Regions from separate parts of the Homo sapiens genome. Here region 1 is linked to region 2. Evidence: promoter capture Hi-C in 16 types of primary human blood cells and fetal thymus (Javierre and others, 2016). All regions are on one chromosome and are shown on one strand. The core of a region is centred on a gene start or on the middle of the fragment in contact, and the rest is flanking DNA. Distances in the headings are between cores, read along the strand shown.

Region 1 (2,700 bases), core at 15-2,514, about 17 Mb before region 2:
CCAGGCTTGCAGGGGAAATGGAAGAGGCAGGGAAGACAGAAAGCGGGTTTACTGGAGAGTTATCCTCTACAGCCTTCTGAGGGGGAGGAATGAGGAAGGCAAGGCTAATGGCCGTAAACGAAAAGGCCACTTAAACTGCAATATCCAAACACCGACCCGTTCATAGTTTCGCTTAATAGTGGTTTAGCAGCATGCAGAGCTAAGAAATCCGGATCAGAGTCATACAAACATGAAGACTTGAGGAAATGGAAGGCTACTATGGCACCATCCACAAAGATGGAGTAAATGCAGGCAACAGGATAAGCTCTATTCAACGCCTGCGCCAAGGGGACCAATGGAAGGGGGAGACAGAGCGGGCTAGAGGACTTAGGCTAAACTCGAATTTAGAACTGGGGAAGGAGTCACAGGGAAAAGCTTTGACTCCCCCCTCCCTTAAATACCAGCCTCAACTATCCACGTAGATGAAGATTAGATGGGACGACAGAATTAGGAGGGGTGTGGGGAGAGGAGGAGGAGTACACCAGTGACACTACTGCTTGAACCCTAAGCCTTAGCTCTAAAACCGCGAGAGTTGGCGAAGATGACCCCACCTCGAGAAAAACCAGGGTATTCATCCGGGTCGTCGGAGGTGCTGAGAACGGAGGTTGGCCGGCAGAAAAGGTAGGGGAAAGGGGCCACTCTTCATTGGTTGCTCCTCTTTCCCACCGTTCAATTTAACCCCCAACCCCACTCCCCAGCGAACTCCAGACTCCCCTCCCACCCTTCCCAATCCGCCCACTGCGGCGGCGACAACGGAGGCGTTGACCGATCGGTGGGGCAAAGGCGGGCCCACACGCGGCCGAGGCCCAGGAAATGGTGTCGCCTCAACGGACAAGAAACGAGGTGGTCTTCGCCTCAGGTCTAGTTTACCGGCACCCCGGCGTTTCGCCAATCGTCACCTCCTTAACGCTGGGCACCTCAGAGGCGTCATAAAGGCAGATAGCCAACACCTCTGTGCTGGGTCCTGGCCGGACAGACATCAGCCTCCGCCGCCATCTTAACAGCAGGCGGACCGACCCTAGTCACTGCCCCCCCACCCCCCACCCGCGAGCTACCTCAGCCACCGCCAACGAATCCCACGAGGACGTAACCCTGCTCCCGCGAGAATTCTCCGGCTTAGAACGGCACGAGCCGAAGACCTTGCCGCCGCCTCCGCGGCTACTGCAGTCAGTAACCGAGCCACCGCCGCCTCCGCGCGATCCCGCGAGAACCTCTACCGGACGGGAAAAGCCTGAGCCCAGCCCTTTCCAGACCCCTCCTCCCTCCCACCAAAGCCGAAGTAGCTACAGCTTCACCCTACGCGAAGCGAAAAGCAAATGACGCACAACCTAACGAAGCAGTGAGGGGCGGAGCCAACCTACCACGGCCGGCTCCCGCATGCGTTGAGAACTATCGCGATATTACGCTTTAGCCTCGGCGAGACCTTCTTAATTCACCGCAGGATGCCGCCCGCGCCTCGCCTTTAGGAAACATGAGATATCGCGAGACCTGGTGCACACTCCTAAAAAGGAGAAAGGCGGAGCTTCATGAAAATGACTGGGAGTTTTTCGGGGGAAGGGAGGAACCCTCCCGTCCTGCAGGGATCTCGCCTACCACGAGGTTTCCGACCCACTGCGGAGCTGGCTGCCAAACCTCGCGATGACACAGCTCAGCGCCAAATCTCGGCCATGTCCTGAAAACTGCCTCCGCCCCCGATCTAGGTGTCTAGAGCCTAGTGCTTGAGGAAAATTTAAAAAGTCAACCTGTTTATTCTCACGCTTCCGGGCAAGGCTGTACCAATTAGCCAAACTCCATTCTGGAAGCGGAGCAAAGAGTCCCCCATTGTTACCTGTCTCCAGGAATAACATATTATCCTGGACTAACATTTAAAAGACGTTCAATCTCACAGTAAGCACACAAATGCAAATGAAAACAATGACATAACATTTTTTGCCCATTAGATAGGGAAAAAAATTTTTAAACCTACATTATCCAGACTCCTTCCCTCGCCGCACTGCAGGCTAACCTGAATCCATCTTAATCTAACTAAAGGCCATATCATTAGTTCTAGTTCCAAAGCCACCAATTTTAACTACTGAAGCTTTACCTTGGCATAACCAAAAAGATCCAATAAAGTGGTTTTCTCCAAACAAAGGAGTCTGCCCTCAAAGGAATATTCAAGCTTCGGGGATGGGGGGAAATGCCTGAAGCTTTTAATATGGCAGTTTTTCCACGTCTAGCCAACAGTGTTTCTCCAATAAATCTTGGGATCCAATCTGGCTTGATTTGTGGGCTTTTCCATTCTAATGCATTGTTCTGTCCGTTCTAATTTAAATAGTTCCTTTAGAGTACATTTTAATAGCCAGTAGTACAAATATCCCTATCTTTACTTACGTTTTAAAATATTTTTTTTCAGTTATTCTTAGCCATTTTTTTCCCCCGGATGAACTTTAGAATCATAGTAAGTTCCAAAAAAACTTGGTATATTTATTGAAATTGCATCAACTGTATAAACCAATATAGGAAAAATGGACATCACTAAAATATTGAGCCTTCTTATTCAGAAGCATAGTATTCCTTCTCTTTTCATGCAGATGTTCTTTTATGGTATTCGTCAATAAAGTTTTATAGTTTACTTCTAGGTATTTTTATTCGTTTCTCTTGCTATTGCGAACAGGTTTT
Region 2 (2,700 bases), core at 1-2,500:
CCTGGCCTAGACAAGTCAGGATCCTGAAGGTAGTGCCCCTAATACCTCCTCCCTTCCCATCATGATCCCCTACCTCCTCTTTTCTGCCCATGTACCCTTATGATAAAAGAACACTACTCTGTAGACTCCAATGTCCCACAGTATCCCTGGTCTCTTGACCCTTTCTTTCCAAATTACCCAGATTCTGCAGTTTTAGCATCTGTGTGGCCTGTCTCCTGGGTTCCCGTGGGTCCTGGAGCTGAACAACAAATGTTTGGTAGAGGTGGATCTCCTTTTTTTGCAACTGACAGCCAGAAGTGATTTCTTCAGAGAATAGATAGTGGCTGCACTTCTGGACTTTATCATTATCCGAGTTCTTGTACCTAGAGGAGAAAGGTTGGAAGGAAGAGGAACAGTGGGGCCAATCTGGGTACTGCAGATATCCAGAGCCTAGCCTCATCTCCCCTCAACCGACTTATGACTTACCCCAGGAGAAAACAGTGGGGTACCTGGGAGACTTGCTACCCTCTCTCTTGGTCTCTGATCCAACCCACCTCTTCTTCATCCCCTCCCCCTCGTCCCTTCTCATACCAATAATGCAGAGTGAGGTTGGTAGGCTGGGGCTCAGAGCTGCTGTTCCAAGTGCAATTCATGTACTCGACATTGAACACAAAACACTGAACCTCTGGGAGGGGCAGAGTGGAAACACTGAGGGAGTCAGTGGGCATAGTGGTCAGGAAGAAATCTAGATTGGGGAGAAAATGAAGGCAGGGAGGGAAAGAGAAATGATGGTCAGAAGGAGGAGGCCAAGCACGGTGGCTCATGTCTGTAATCCTGGTGCTTTGAAAGGCTGAGGCAGGAGGATCACTAGAGGCCAGGAGTTTGAGACCAGCCTAGGCAACATAGTGAGACCCTGCCTCAAAAGAAAGAAAGAAACAAACAAACAAGAAAGAAAGAAGAAGTAGCGTGAGGCAGGGAACCCTCCCCCTTGCCCTTCCCACTCCACTTTTCAATTCTGCCCACATGATTGTAATGGCCAGTGGCAGGCACCAGATCTCTGTACGGCCCCTTCCCACAGCCACCCTTCTCACCAGCCCCCTCCAGTCCCAGATTTCCCACCAGCTGTGGTGTCTTCATTCCCATTGGGCGTCAGAATTGTCGTGTTCAGCCCCACTCCCAGCAGGGGCAGCTGCAGGAATAAGAGGGATGTGAATGGTAATGATGGCTTCAACATGGCGCTTGCTCTTCATTCCCTGGGTGTAGTCTGTCTGTGTCAGGAACCTGGGTCCCTCACCCACTACCCCTCCCCACCCACACGTTTCCTCTGTCATAGCTTCCGGTGGAAAGAACCTTATAAACCAGGGCTTTACAGAGGGTGTGGCAAATATGTGCTGTGTGACACGGGCTAAGTCCTCTAGGAGATTAGGTGCTGCTGTAAGGTGGTAAACAGAAACTAAAGCTGGATATACAATAGTGTCACAGACTCAAAAATCCTCAGCCCACCTAGATCCTGGGAAGGATCTGTTCACTACCACTAGCACCATTCTCAACCACCTTCTCCTCTAAATCATTACCTTCTATAATGGAAGTTCTGAACCCCCACCCCCGACATCACCGTTCTATGCCATGCCTCTTCCTTGACTTGGTCACCCTTAAATCTCTGTCAAAGCTCTACTGTTTTGGGAGGATGGAAAATACCGTCTTGGCTCCTGTGGGCACATATACAGCTGTCTTTCCTCTGATCTAATCCAAACCAGAATACCCACCCTTAGCTGCTGCCTGAGCTGGGTCCCTGTTGAGACTGGCGAGGAAGTGTGACTTATAATACAAAAATATTCTAGAAATGGAGGAACAACAATACTAGCTTCAAGCTTCCCATCTTCCCCCAACTCTGCTTCTCTTCCTGCCTTCCCCACCTCAGTCAATGGTATCGTCACCCTCTCAGTCACCCAGACTTGAAACCTCAGAATCAGCTTCAATTTCTCCCCCTCTCTCACCCAGAGAATATAACCCACTCTGCTTCTGTGGTGTTTCTCCCAACGGTTTCCTCCTTTCCATTACCACAGCCACTCTGCTAAATCAGTCTTTCATTAGCTCTAGTCATGATTCTATCTAGACTCCATCAACTGGCCTCCCTTTCTAAAGGCCCTCTGCTCTCTAATCCATTCTTCATCCTGTTGCCAGTTTTACCTTCCCCGAAAACACAGAGGTGATTGGAGAAGCCACTTACAGAAACTATTTATTCAGCAAACATTTATTACGTTTTTAATATGTGCCAGGCACTGTGCTTATGTTCTGGAAATAGACCAACAAGACATCCTCATATTTCTAGACACTCACAGAAAAGTGGGGAAGACATAAACAAGTAATACAACATAGTGTAACAAGTCCTATAGCATAAATGTAGAGATACTACAAAGTATGTGAGCACAGAAGAGGAAGTAACTAAATTTACCAAGATGGAGAGGGGGATAGTTTAGTGAAGGCTGTGCTGAAGAGGTGCTATTTCAGTGGCATCTTAAAGAATGAGTGTAATTTTACCAGACAGAAAGTGGTGTAGGATATTAAGCAAAGAAAAACAGCACTTGCCTGGGAGTCTCAGGAAAACTGGACTATATGGCCCAGCTTAGTATTTAGTATGTATCTTTAGTATGTATTAGTTTGCTAGGGCTGCCATAAGTTATCCCCAAACTGAGTGGCTTAAACCAACAGAAATTTATT

What was found. The method cuts DNA at HindIII sites, captures the fragments that hold promoters and counts their contacts. A CHiCAGO score of 5 or more calls a contact.
Region 1: a fragment that was not itself captured here is called in contact with the fragment with the promoter of IL2RG in region 2 in 1 of 17 cell types (fetal thymus); the score reaches 6.9 in fetal thymus.

The regions. Positions count from the first base shown.
Region 1 is chrX:53,682,780-53,685,479 of GRCh38, forward strand. The region is part of intron 2 of HUWE1 (HECT, UBA and WWE domain containing E3 ubiquitin protein ligase 1); the gene reads right to left. Among named protein-coding and RNA genes, the nearest start is that of HUWE1, 2.6 kb to the right of the region's middle. The HindIII fragment of the contact is 1,705 bases long and covers 413-2,117 here.
Region 2 is chrX:71,110,327-71,113,026 of GRCh38, forward strand. It overlaps IL2RG (interleukin 2 receptor subunit gamma), which reads right to left and starts at 1,251. Exons shown (of 8, transcript NM_000206.3): 1 at 1,099-1,251; 2 at 571-724; 3 at 178-362. The coding sequence starts at 1,213. RefSeq lists enhancers at 712-1,911, 1,014-1,403. The HindIII fragment of the contact is 3,788 bases long and covers 1-1,848 here.